Linked DNA regions of Homo sapiens: all the other regions are linked to region 4. The links are contacts of gene promoters, found by promoter capture Hi-C in blood cells and fetal thymus (Javierre and others, 2016). All regions are on one chromosome and are shown on one strand. The core of a region is centred on a gene start or on the middle of the fragment in contact, and the rest is flanking DNA. Distances in the headings are between cores, read along the strand shown. Region 1 overlaps ATG7 (autophagy related 7). Region 2 has its middle 19 kb from the start of TSEN2. Region 3 holds the start of TSEN2 (tRNA splicing endonuclease subunit 2). Region 4 holds the start of TAMM41 (TAM41 mitochondrial translocator assembly and maintenance homolog).

The links. The method cuts DNA at HindIII sites, captures the fragments that hold promoters and counts their contacts. A CHiCAGO score of 5 or more calls a contact.
Region 1: a contact is called between a fragment that was not itself captured here and the fragment with the promoter of TAMM41 in region 4, in 1 of 17 cell types (total CD4 T cells). The highest score is 5.4, in total CD4 T cells.
Region 2: a fragment that was not itself captured here is called in contact with the fragment with the promoter of TAMM41 in region 4 in 1 of 17 cell types (total CD4 T cells); the score reaches 5.3 in total CD4 T cells.
Region 3: the fragment with the promoter of TSEN2 here is called in contact with the fragment with the promoter of TAMM41 in region 4 in 2 of 17 cell types (naive CD8 T cells and naive CD4 T cells); the score reaches 8.0 in naive CD8 T cells.

What each region holds. Positions count from the first base shown.
Region 1 is chr3:11,329,627-11,333,096 of GRCh38, forward strand. It overlaps ATG7 (autophagy related 7), which reads left to right. Exons shown (of 21, transcript NM_001349232.2): 10 at 1,714-1,802; 11 at 3,346-3,467. Among named protein-coding and RNA genes, the nearest start is that of ATG7, 59 kb to the left of the region's middle. The HindIII fragment of the contact is 2,514 bases long and covers 927-3,440 here.
Region 2 is chr3:12,463,679-12,466,912 of GRCh38, forward strand. No RefSeq gene overlaps it. Among named protein-coding and RNA genes, the nearest start is that of TSEN2, 19 kb to the right of the region's middle. The HindIII fragment of the contact is 718 bases long and covers 992-1,709 here.
Region 3 is chr3:12,482,804-12,486,088 of GRCh38, forward strand. TSEN2 (tRNA splicing endonuclease subunit 2) reads left to right here and starts at 1,677. Exons shown (of 12, transcript NM_025265.4): 1 at 1,677-2,077. RefSeq lists an enhancer at 1,601-2,020. The HindIII fragment of the contact is 9,261 bases long and covers 1-2,855 here.
Region 4 is chr3:11,845,559-11,849,066 of GRCh38, forward strand. TAMM41 (TAM41 mitochondrial translocator assembly and maintenance homolog) reads right to left here and starts at 1,327. Exons shown (of 8, transcript NM_001284401.2): 1 at 944-1,327. The coding sequence starts at 1,078. The HindIII fragment of the contact is 19,949 bases long and covers 1-3,508 here.

The DNA.
Region 1 (3,470 bases), core at 934-3,433, 520 kb before region 4:
TGTCTTCCTTTTATTAAAATAAACTTTTTATTTTGGGATAATTTTAGATTTACAGAAGATAGTGGCAAAGACAGTACAGAGAATTCCCATGTACCTTCACCCAGTTTCAGTTTTTTCTAATGTTGTCACATTATATCACCACGGTTCATTTGTCAAAACTAAGAAGCCAGAATTCTTACATTACTATTAACTCAGCTCTAGACATTTCCGATTTCACCAGTTTTTTCCTGCAATACTCTCTGTTCAGGATCCAGTCCAGGATACTACATTGCAATTCGTTGTCATGTCTCCTCCTTAGTTTCCTCTGATCTGTAATTGCTTCTCAGGCTTTCTTTGATTTTTTTTGATGACCTTGACATTTTTGAGGAGTACTGATTAGTTATTTTTATAGAATGTCCCTTAATTTGCATTTGTCTGATGTTTTCTTGTGATTAGACTGGGGTTATGGGTTTTTGGAAAAAATACCACTGAGTGAAGTACCCTTATCACCTGATATCCACATGACATCCTTGGTAATGTTAAATTGATTGCTTGCTTAAGGTAATATTTGCCAGGTTTCTCCACTGTAAAAATACTATTTTTTCTTTGAAAGTAAATCAGTAATTCCAGCTACCTTTAAGGAGGGGAAGGTTTAAATTTTGCTTCTGAAGAGGCCAGTATTTGCTTATATAGTTTGGAAATTTTCTTTAAGGAAGACTTGTCCCTTCACATTTATTCCATTCTTTATTTATATCAGTGTGGACTCGTAGATACTTATTTTATACTTTGGGTTATAATTCAACATCATATTATTTATATTGTTGCACAAATTGTTCCAGCCTTGGCTATTGATAACTCTTACAGTTGGTGCCTGTATCACCTTGGCATGCCCCAATTCATTTGTTTTTTGAGTACCTCCTTCTTTCCTGATATTATAAGATGCTCCAAGCTTCTCTTGTATTTTCCCTGCCTGAGCCCTAGAATTAACCATGTGTCCAAGGAGCCCCGATTTATTTTCTTGGAGAATGGTATTTAGAAGTCAGTATCTGGGTGCTGGGTGCTCATTGTCTTTGAAAGGAAGGAGACAGAAAATGAAAAATGTTATATACAAGGTTCAAAGAGCTGTGAAAGCAGCAAGGACAGGCCAACTACTTCTGCCAGCAGAAGTCTTCACTGAAGAAACGGTATTTTAAATTGAGTAGAGTTTTCCAGATGAAGATCGGGATTGGAGTGGGATGGGAAAGGGGAGGGAGGAAATATATGTTAGCAAAATCAAGAGTAACTGGCTGTTTAACTTGATCTGACTGTACACTTACATTGGTAGTGGCCCTTCTTTGATTTTCTCATTGCATAAAAATGAGCAATTTTCACAGATTATATTTCTTTGTTTACAAGAGGATTTTCTCTACAAACTCTCTTGACTGTCCTCCTTCATTCCCCATCTTCCTTCCAGTCTTTTTTCCTTCTACGTGTATTTAGCTCCTACTTTCTGCCAGGCACAATGCAAGGCACAGGGGGTGCAGACAAGAATTTGATAGCCCCTGCTATCAAGAAGTTCTGTAGTGCAGTGTGAGATCCTGTGGCTTTCTTCTCCTCCCCTTAGCCCTTTACCAGATGTTTAATTTTTAAGGCTTTGCAGAAAGCATAAAAAAGCAAAGAGGAAGTATGAGCAATGTCTGTATTGTGAAGCTGACATGATACTCGACTTACTCAGAAAGTCTTTTTTGTTCACAGATAACAATTGGTGTATATGATCCCTGTAACTTAGCCCAGTACCCTGGATGGCCTTTGAGGAATTTTTTGGTCCTAGCAGCCCACAGATGGTATTTACAAGAGTGTGTGTTTGTCTGTCTGTCTGCCTTTGCCAGTATATGTTTTACAATGTGTCTGTTTCTATTTGTATCTCTGTTTTCCTAAATGCATTATTTTTTCATTTTGGGCATGGAAACCAGGTAATCAATAAATCAGTCATAACCCAATTTCCATACTAGTGAACCTTAAGCAGGTCTGTTAGGGACCTGCATACTCTGATCATTCTGTGCTAAAGATGTTTTAGTGTATGGTAGAGTTGGTAGCCAGAGGTCCTGACACAAATTCTGTAGCCCTCCCTTCTAGCTGTCTGGGTTTCTTTCAGATAGGATTTTCCTACTGCTGTCATTCTCCATTTTTCTTAACCCTAAAATAATTAAAACAGAGGATATCTTAAAAGCCAATATACATTTGAAAAGATGCCCAACATCATGTCATTAAGGAAATAAAAATTAAAACCATAATGAGATGCTACTACATATCCACCAAAAGTATTTAATAAAAATGTCTGTACCAAGTGTTGTCGAAGATGTGGAGCAAATACTGCTGGAAAAATGTTGGGCAGTATCTACCAAAATTAAAAATATCTATGGCTCAGCAATGTTACTCTCAAGTATATTACTCACTGAAATACCTACATAGATAGAAGCAAAACACATATACAAGAATGTTTACAGAAGCATTATTCTCAATAACCAAAAGCTGGGAATAGTTCACACGTTCTTCAATAATGAAATGAATAATAAATTTAAGTATATCCCTTATGATGAAATGTCATATACAATGAATCTGAGTGAACTATTAATACAGAGATCAGCATGGCTGAATTTTAAAAACATAATATTAAGTGAAATAAGTTGGACCTAAAATAATACATACTCCATGATTCCATTTATGTAAAGTTAAAATAGGCAAAACCAATGTATGGACTTAGAGTAGTTGTTACTTTTGAAGGCAGTGGTTAATGACTGAGAGAAGGCATAAGACAGCCTTCTTTATACTTGGGATTTGTGTAATGTGTCTGCTTTACTTAAATAAAAATGTTTATTTAAAAATATGAAGATAGATAAATTATAGATTGTTCTCTGAGGGAGACAATCTACAATTATCCAGGTGGTAAGTCTACACAGTGCAAATGGGCTTCCTAACTACTGACTGAGGTACTGCTGCTTAATATGGAAGTTCAGATGGGGAGAGCAGAGGGAACCAAAAGAACCCACGTCCTAGAGGATTTTTTCTAAATGTCTTGTGAGCATTTTTTCCGCATTTAAAAGATTTACTTGTCGGAATTATTTATGTGCAATATGATTGTAGAAAGAAATCACCTAGAAAGAAATCACAGCCAATTCATTTTTCAGCCTCTAAACACTTGGACAGAGGAGCCATATATGAATATGTTCAAAAGAGTTAAGGCCATCTCCTGTGGGTATCAGAGAGGCATAATTAGAATGCATTGAATTCTCTCCAACTGGTTTGCTGAAGCTCTTATGTGAGCTTTTTCTTTTCCTTCCTTTAAAAAAAAATAATAAATAAATAAAAATCCGGGCATGACAACAGGAGTAGCAGTTTCCAGTCTGTTGAAGTTGTTTGCTTCCGTGACCGTACCATGCAGGGGGCGAGAGACGTTGCCCACAGCATCATCTTCGAAGTGAAGCTTCCAGAAATGGCATTTAGCCCAGGTA
Region 2 (3,234 bases), core at 101-2,600, 620 kb after region 4:
TTGTCAACCGGACTTAGGACACTGAGTTGTGAGAGATTTGTGAATCAAGGAGGTGGTGCCTGGATTACTGTGGCCACTGCAATCTCAGCTGAGCACTGGCCATTTTCCCATCCTGGAATCAGAGTGATATGTGGTATCCTGGAATCTGCCCTGAAAGGGGAGTAAGGTCAATGTCTACTTTCTGCTTGCTGGGGATTGAGCTGAGTGGCACTGGGAAGAGGTCATCAGTGGTGCAACAGGTGGATTCTAGCTTCCTTTGGAAGTGCTGCCAGCCAACTTCCAATCCCAGGTCCCTGGCACAGTGCTGGCACATCACAGGTCCATGGGCCATGCCTGGCACTGACTAAGGGCCTCACATAATTGTACCCAGCTTTTCTGTCTCTATCCATTCTGCTTGTGGTGGCCAAGATATTTTCTCAAGAACATACTCTGATCAGGTCACTCCCCTGCTCCAAATGCTTCAATGGGTTGGGCCCAAACTCCTTAGCTTGGCCCTTAAGGTTCCTTGGGGTTTGGCCTCTACTGAGTTCACCAAGTTTCCTCCCACTATTTCTGTCTTCCACACCATGCTCCAGATCATTCAAGGACCCACATCTTCCTGTACCTGCCATGGTTTTACATTTTGGTGCCTCACACATGCTCTTCTGACTTGTAGATTGTTCCTTCTGTTGTCTTCCAGTGTACTTCTATTCATCCTTCAAGGCCCAACTCAAATGTCCCTTTTTCTGTAAAGAAAACCCTAAACCATCCTCCAAAGGGTTGCTTTCTCCTATGGGCTTCATAGTGCCCTGTCTACCTCTCTGTCATAACAGCTAACTTTTTGTATTTGTAGTAGAGATGGAGTTTTATCATGTTACCCAGGCTGGTCTCAAATTCCTGGGTTCAAGTGATCCACCTGCCTTGGCATCCCAAAGTGTTGGGATTACAGGCGTGAGCCACGGGGCCCGGCCTGTTTACTTCTTTCTATATCTGCCTCCTGCTCTGGACCACAAGCTTGATAGGCTAGGAATTGTGCCTGCTTTCTCAGAAGTCCCCACTGCTCAGCCCGGGGCATCTCAGCTTCCTGGCCTGGAGAAAGGGCAGGAGGGTGTGTCTGTGCACCAAGCACTGGCTGACCTCTTCTGACTTGTCTTTACCTGCAGGATGGGCAATGACAAAATCTCTTCCATTTTTTCTTTAAAATCTTCTTTAGTACCAAACATTCTTTGGCAGCCACAATCTCCTTCAAAACCCAGGCAAGGCATGCAGAGCTGGGGAAATTGCTGCAGGCAGGGAGCCCATGTCTTGGTGTCTCTCCTACATCTGTAGAGCTCCCTTGGCCGCTGCCTGCTTATCTGTAAAGTGGGAAAGTAACTAACCTTCCAAGATTAGACCAGATCATGCCTGTCAAAGAGCCATAGAAACTGGAAGACACTGGCCTCTGTGATTTCTCTGTCTCTGGTGTTTGCCTTCAGTCCATTTCTGAGTATTTTACTATAAGCATTTAAAACATCCTCAGCACGTTTAAGAAATCGCTGTCCTCAAAATGATGCCTGTGTGAGTTTTTGCTGTTGAAGGAATCTCTGATGGTGCCCGCATTTAAAACGTCCTCACCACATTAGGAAATTACCCCCTCCAAAGTGGTGACTATGTAAGTTGCTGTTAAAGGAATTTCTGATGGTGCCCGCATTTACAACCAAGTGCCTTCAAGGGAGCCGACTTTGCCTTCAAGCTTCAATAACTTGTTTTTTTCCTTTCTTTCTTTTTTTTTTTTTTTTTTGAGACAAGGTTTTGTTCTGTCGCCCAGGCTGGACTGCAGTGGCACCATCACGGCTCACTGTAGCCTCAACCCCCCAGGGCTCAAGTGATCCTCCCACTTCATCCTCCCGAGTAGCTGGAACTACAGGCTCACGCCACCACGCCCGGCTAATTTTTGTGTTTTTTTGTAGACGGAGTTTCGCCATAGTAACGTGTTTTTCTACCAAATAGACTCTAAAAGTGACTGGTGCACTAACGCCAGCTGATGCATGCCTGCATTTTTTAAAGTTTTTAATGGGTAACTGTTTAATTCTTCCCAGGGAGATATTTTCTAGGCGATAGAGATATTTTGTAAATAATATACTTTCTTAGCGTTAGAGGGAAAGCAAGGAATGAAAAGTCAAAGCACCAAAAGTAAAACTATTTTGCCCTAAGTCAGGTCTAGGGATGGGAAACAGGATTCATTTTAACTCTAAGGAGTGAACATAGGGATCTCTGGGACATCTGTCTGTCAGGCAGAGTCGTCTGGAACACTTCCTAGAGATCTTGACCTGTCGCCATAAGTAGGGGAGGCTAATTAAAGGAAATAAAAGACTAGTAGCCAGGAGATTCCAACGTGCTGAAAAAACAAAGGCAGCCAACCTCCAAACTGCTAAGTAAGCTCCCTGCTCTGGCCCTGCCCAGCTTCCCCTTGCAGCCATCCAGATGCTCTTTGCTTTGCCTTAATTTCCACTACCTACACTTACTCTTCTCTGTTTACCCTGAGGGATTAGCAGAGACGGCCCTTGAAACTGAGGCTAATTCTGCACCTGAGGCTCCCGGACCCCAACTGTGGGTCCCTCCAGGGCTGGCACTATCTATTCCTTGTCCTGTGTCCAATGCAGGGCCCACTAGCAGGGTGTAGTGGTTCAGAGTGTAGACAGGGAAATGCAGCAAGGAAATGCAAATGAAAACTGCTAGACACCACTGTACCTCCAACAGAAAGACTAAAATGAAAAAGACTGACCATTGGCTGGGCGTGGTGGCTCATGGCTGTAATCCCAGCACTTTGGGAAGCCGAGGCAGGCAGATCACCTGAGGTCAGGAGTTCGAGACCAGCCTGGCCAACATGGCAAAACCCTGTCTCTACTAAAAATACAAAACTTAGCCAGGCATGATGGCCCATGCTTGTAATCCCAGCTATTCGGGAGGCTGAGGCAGGAGAATTGCTTGGACCTGGGAGGTGGAGGTTGCAGTGGCCAAGATAGCACCACTACACTCCAGCCTGGGCCAACAGAGCAAGACTCTGTCTCAAAAAAATATAAAAATAAAAATACTGACCATAGCAAGCATTGGTGAGGGTGTGGAGCAACTAGAACTTTCATTCCCTGCTGATGGGAATGCACAATGGTACAGGCACTTAAGAAAACACTTCTGTGGTTGATTATAAAGTTAAATATGCACTTTACCATATGACCTAGCAATTCTACTCATAGGTATTTTCAAAAGTGAAATGAG
Region 3 (3,285 bases), core at 427-2,926, 640 kb after region 4:
TTCTAAAACCAGTATTTCTTAAATTGGCATGTTCTGGTCGGATATTACAGCCTCTCTTCAGCTGTCTCTCCCCTGCCCAATCCATCCTGTTACCATATCCTGTGACTCTTGCCAATTTTCTCCCTTTCTTTTGCAACATTCTTACCACAAAGCTCTTTGATTTTGGTTTATCTAAAACCTGAACTCCCTAGCCTAGCAGTGAAGGTCCTTGCAGCAGAGGACCCACTGAATGCTGCGACATGATCTCACTCTACCAAGAGCAAGCCCACAGTGCAGTTCAAAAAGGGCCAGGCAGGATGCAGTGGCTCAAGCCTGTAATCCCAGCACTTTGGGAGGCCGAGGCGGGAGGATCGCTTGAGGTCAGGAGTTTGAGACCAGCCTGGCCAACGTGGTGAAACCCCGTTTCTACTAAAAATATAACAATCAGCCGGGCGTGGTGGCAGGCGCCTGTAATCCGAGCTACTCGGGAGGCTGAGGCAGGAGAATCACCTGAACCTGGGAGGCAGAGATTGCAGTGAGGTAAGTGAGCTGAGATGGTGCCACTGCATTCCAGCCTGGGCGACAGAGCCAGGCTCCGTCTCAAAAAATAAAAAGGGCCAGAAAAACAGGGACAACACATGCCATGCCAGACTACTGCAGAGCACAGAGGCAAGTCACCCAAGCAGGTCTGGGAAGGCAAGAAGTCTCCTGGAAGAGGTGATATTTGAGCTGAGACCTAAAGGCTGACCAGGAATTACTGCAGCTAACAGAGGGGAGGGAACATAGAGGCAACAGCATGCGTGAAGGAATGGAGGCAAGAACATTGGCAGAAGTCCAAAATTCAACATCCATCATCACATCTAGCACCATGAATCTCTCCAGCAGTATTTGCCACACTTCCTTGCCATCCTCCTTTGCCTCCTGCTTAGTCTGTGTGGTGGAACTCCTGTGATTCATATTTGGGAAAGTATATATTGGACTCCCCACAGGGCTCCTTTAAAATAACCAGGTCAGGAGAAACTTACACTTCCTATTGCACTCCAGTTTTGCTCATCTCCCGTAATTCTGATGGCCCATTTTTCAGTAAACTCAAGCTCAGAAAGGTTGTCAGTCATTCAAGCTCACGCAGCCAGTGAGGGGGGAAAATGGGGATGCAGAGCAGGTGGACCTGCCGCCTATTGTCCCTTAACTGCACAGGCAGTCTGGGCACACAGAGGCTTCTGGCCAGGTGTCTGCCAGAGAAAACGTCCTTGCAAGTTCCCCGCATGCTGCAGCGTACACAGGTGCGCTGCTGTGATCCTCTTTCTACATTGAGAAAGATGAGATCAGTTTCCTCAGGGCCATTTAATAAAGTCCTGTCGGTCGCCTCAAACATCCCATCCACCGAGGGCCGAAGATTCTAGGTCTCTCCCACCTCCCACGTGACTATGTGACATTTGACGGGTAACTGCATCTCATCTGTAAAATGCGTCTTGCAGGATCGTTCTGGCTTCCGTACAATCCTGCAGAGAGCAGCAAAGCGCGCACGCAGCCTCCGCCTCATACTCCGCAGTGGCAGAGCTGGCGCACAGAACACCCGCCAGCCGGCCGTGCGCAGGCGCACTCCGCCAAGTCCCGACGGGAGCTCTGCGGCTGCGCACTCGGCTGGCTTTGCGGCCGCACTGCTTGACGGCAGCGGTGTCCGCCCCACGGCCGGCGTTGCCGGGGTAACGGCGAGCGCGTGGGGCCAAGAAAGGTAAGGGCCCTGGGCGAGGAAAGCGCGGCCCTTTCCGAGTTTGGTGTTTTGCAGCGAAAGGAAATCTCGCTCTTCCGAAAGTCCTCCAGGGCGAGAGAGGAAAGGGCCTAGGTACTGTGCTGGGGTCGCACAGCCGGCCGAGACAGTGCCGGGACGGGGAGCCAGGCTTCCGAGTGCGCCCGGTCACTGACTCCTCCGCGCTTTCCTCGTGCGCCTGCAGCCCTTGGTTCTTGGAAACGCCGGCGCCTTGTTCAGGGCTGGTGGGGCTGGGGCGCAAGGTGCAGCTGACAATGCCCGAGAGGAGCCGCAGCCTCTGGTGGAGTTCGGTCGGGTGTGGGGGTAGTCAAGGAAAGAAGCAAAGGGGTAAGACAGGGAGTTAGGAATTGGCGGGGCCCCTAACGCTGTTGGGGTGCGCAGTTTATTTTATTTGCAGCTGTCGTCTGGTGAGCGCTTTCCACGTGGTAGGCCCCGAACGAAACGCCTTCTGCAAAATTATGCATTTAATCCTGACAACAACTTTCAAAGGCTGGTCATCTGTTTATATGGCTTATTCTCAGGTTCTAACTTGAAAGCTCCCCAGAGGCAGGATTGTTTACCTTGTGCCTTTCATCCTTGCCTCCCTAAGCCCAGGAGGTGCGCAGATGGAGCTTGAAGCGTGTTTTGGTTGGGAGAAGGTGAGATTTGCTGGGTAGGAGGTTTTTTAACCAGGTTTGTTTGGCACCTAGTCCAGGAAGGTTGGAAAATTAAATGGAGCCACCTCTCCCTTTTTTGTTTTTCTAATAGACATTTACCATCACCTAAGAGGTGTTAGCCTGTGTGCTCGAGGGAAGAATAAGAAACAGACTCTGCTTTTAATAGAAAGTAAGAATATGCAGCTCTGGAGTCAGGTTGCGCAGGTTGGGGAAATAAGAAGTAAAGATTTCTCAGGGGTGCGCCCGGCCCCTCCGAGTCACTTTCCACATCTGTACAATGGAAATAAAAATAGTCTTTACCTCCGGGGGCTACTGGGATTAAGTGAATTTGAATAGACCTTGCTGTTACCAGTGGTTAGCTATATGTTAAAATCAGCTGGGTCCACCCAGGAAATTCTGATGTAATTGATTGCAGGTGAGGCCTGGGCATGAGGAGTTAAGGGTAGGTAAGCTTGAGGGCCACTGTGTGATGTACCACTCCCAGGTTTAATTTTCTTAATCTGCATTTTTCAATCATCATTCTAAATAACCTGCAGTGACTCCAATTCCAAACCAACCTTTGCATCCCAAACCTCTTGACAACTGACCCAGTCTTTCCTATATGTTTTTGTGCACCTCAGGCACCGCTCTTCTTTCATATCTGTGGAATGAGGATAGTACAGTCAGCTCTCGCTATCAGGTTCCGAATCTGTGGATTCAACCAATGTTGCATCAAAAATATTTGGAAAAAGAAATTTAAAAATATATATATATAACAATTATTTAGTATTTACATTGTATTAGGTATTCTAAGTAATCTAGAGAAGACTTAAAGTAGATGGGAGGATGGGCATAAGTTACATGCAAATACTACATTTTATTTAAGGGACTTGAGCTGCG
Region 4 (3,508 bases), core at 77-2,576:
ATGTTAAGGTAAATTCGGGAAAAATAACTAGCCTATAATAACCTATAATTTCTCATATGCTGCCAATTTAAAGAAAAATATTAAATAGTAGTGTAAGTGGGAAACAGAGGAAATCCAAGCAACAGCATAGATGGCCTCACCAGGAAGTGAACAGGCAGGATGTTAATCAGAAGACAGACTACAGTCAGGTATCCAGACGCAGGGGGCCCCATTAAAACCTGCACACTGAATTCTGCAAATTACAAGGAAAACTGTACCCTTACTGAGGCTGTGCTGAGCCAACTCTGAAAAGTAACAATGCCTAGTCTCAAACAGACCGTTGTTAAAAGTGCTGAGCGAGGGTAAATACACTGGTCACGCACTAACTTTTGATGTTAGTTACTTTCACTGCACCTGCCCTGGCCCTACAACCAGTCCGCCAACTTCCTGAAGTCAGAAGATCATTTTGCATTTTCTCCTACATTTATAGAGGTGACTCTCAACAAACTTGGCTGCGCATTAGAATCACCTGGGACGTTTCTTAAATTCCTGAAGCCCAGGCCTCATCCCAAACCAATTAAATCAGAATCTCCATCGGCGGAAGCCGAGCATTAGGATTTTCTTAAAAGCTCCCCAGAAAATTCCGATGTCCAGCCGACTAAAACACTGAAAGAACCTGATAACGATTTCTTTTCCTTTCTTCCATTTGCCCCTGCAGCAGTTTTTCCTTCTGCCTAACTGCTTCTCCTGCTCTAGACCCACGTGGATTCCTAAGTATCCTTCAACACCGTCGCTTCAACTCGCGCTGTCGTTATACTAGGAAGGCAGGCCTATGGTTCACTCTGCTAGTGGACACGTGGAGTGTGCAGAGCGGACAGGCAGCTCTCCGACTCTGAAGGAATCGAGGGCAAAACGGGACTCGTGAGAACAGACAGTTCCCCGTCGTGGGGCTGCCCGGGCTCACCTTCTGGTCTGAACTCGGCCCTGCCTGGCGGTACACCCCGGAGCCGTAGACGAAAGCCAGACTCAGCTCCTCGGGGAAGTGAGACAGGATCTTGCGGAAGGTCACCCACGAGCTCTGCAGCGTCTGCAGCGCCATGGGGTCGAGGCTAACAGGGGACACTCAGCGCAGCAGGGCGAGGACAACCGGGCGGGGAACAGACACCGGGTAGGCGGTTTAGGGTGGGAAATGGAAGTCGGAGACTGGATCGAGGGACACAAGGCTGAGTGTGGGGTGGGACTGCAAGCACACGCAAGGATTGGGGCGTTGGGCCACGAAGAGCAGCGGCGAGAAGACGCAGCCCAGATAGGCTCGGGTGGGCGGCGGTCGCACAGGCAGAGCTTCCGTCCCTTGCTACGCCCCACGCACGCACAGGCGCTTCCAAGACGCAAGAGGCGGTGCTCGCCTTAGTGTGGGGAACGCGAGGCTTTGCATTGTCCCCTCGTGGTCGGAGGAGTGCCCTACAGGCTGGCGGCTAGGTTGCGACTTGGACAAATCGGCGGAGGCGAGCGTCACCCGACTCCGCGGGCCCTGAGCCTTGATAGCCTCTGTACTTCTCTCTTCAAACTACGGTTTAAAGAATGACTATAAAATCGGGAGCGTATTGAAGGTTTTTAAGTGAGGCGACACTCACATAATATGGAACTAGCCGTTCTGAAATGGACAGTGTAGTAGCATGTAGTGCCTTCACAATATTGTGCCCCCATCATCGCTCTAGTTCCAAAATTGCAGATTTCGAAGATTTGGAAAAACACAAAATTAAAATGATGCCCAATCCCGCCATGTAGAGAATACCACCGTCAAGATTTGACGGAGACTTCTTCACGCTAAAGCCCTTTTCAAATACAAGGGTGGATATGGGAGTGCACAGACGTTCTCTGATACTTGCATTTAATTTCAAGGGTGGATCACAGTTTTTGCCCCCTTGCCTTGTGGAATGGTCTCACAAAGGGTGCTTCAAATGCAGTTTCTGGAGGAAACAGGACCCTAGGAGTAGAAAAATCTTACAGCTCTCCTCTTTGTATAACTGGAGAAACTTGCTGAAGATTACCATTCAGGAGGTGGTTTGACTTCCAGGACAGAAACTTTTTCAACTACCCTCTCCTTCCTCCCCAAAATACACTACCTCTCAAAAATAATAGAAATAGTAATAGCTAACATTCAGGTAATGTTGACACATTTTCACATGCACTTCTCACTGAGCACCCTCTAGTGCCCTGTGGCAGGAGGGCCTTGGTTTTACTGATGGCCAAGCTAAGGCTTAGAGAGGTAAAGCCAGGTGATAGGATCACATCAGCCTGTGGCAAAACTAGAGCTAAACCCAGGTCTGGCTCCAACTCTGGGATTTTTTCGGAAATTCTGCTCTGTCCTTGAAGGGTTTTGAGCAAGGACTTATGTAATTCACATGTTAGCCTGAATTGTGGGGGACTGATTAGACAGTTGTTATCATAGTTCCCCCATGAACTGGAAACGGCTAGGCCAAGGTCTTAGGAGCAGGGATGGGATTAAATCAATTGGAAAAATGATTACTTGCACTCACACTCTGGGCCTGCACTGAGATGAAGAGATCTGAGCTGCCTGCTGCCCTGCAGGAGCTAGGGGTCTGTAGAGGAGAGGAGACAGAACTGCAAATCAGAGTAGAATTTGGGTAATGCAGCCAGGTACCCAGCACAGTGCCGGAATGTAATGTCCCTCCAATGGGAACGTCAGTCAGTTCTGGGTGTTGGGGAAAGGGACCAGAAGAGGTTTCACAATGATGGCATTTTGAGCCAGGCCTGGAAGCTGGGTAGGAGTTTATCAGGTAGAAGATAGATGGGAAAATTCAACCAAGAAAGAATTGAAAGGACTCGGTGACAATAATACTAATAATAGGTGTCATTATTAAGCACTTAGTATGCCCAGGCACTTTTTAGACTTCTTTGGGGCTTTTCTGTTTTTGTTTTTTTTTTGAGACCGAGTCTTGCTCTGTTGCCCAGGCTGGAGTGCAGTGGCACGATCTCAGCTCACTGTGACCTCTGCCTCCTGGGTTCAAGCAAGCATGCCTGGCTAATTGTTGTATTTTTAGTAGAGATGGGGTTTCACTGTGTTGGCCAGGCTGGTCTCGAAATCCTGACCTCTAGTGATTTGCCCACCTCAGCCTCCCAAAGTGCTGGAATTACAGGCGTGAGCCACTGCACCCAGGCTTTTTATACTTGTTTCTTTTCATCACTCCAGAGATCCTATGAGGCAGGTTCTCTAAGATGATGATATTTTTCATACGAGGAAACAGAGGTCCTAAGAGGAGCAGTAAATGTTCCAAAGTCACACAGGAAAGTGGTGAAGTCGGGGTTTGAACCTAGGGCTACCTACCTCTAAAGGCCAAGGTCTTTACCACCATGTTTAAGTGTCCTCTACAGCGGCTTGCAGGGTGAGAGAAGGAAATGGGAAGAAAGCAGGCACTCAGGCATCAGCCAAGAGTCAGGAGCAGCAGCAGTAGCCGCAGCAACAAGCAGGAGACCAGGGCAAGGGAGCGGAGAGAGGCCGTTTGTC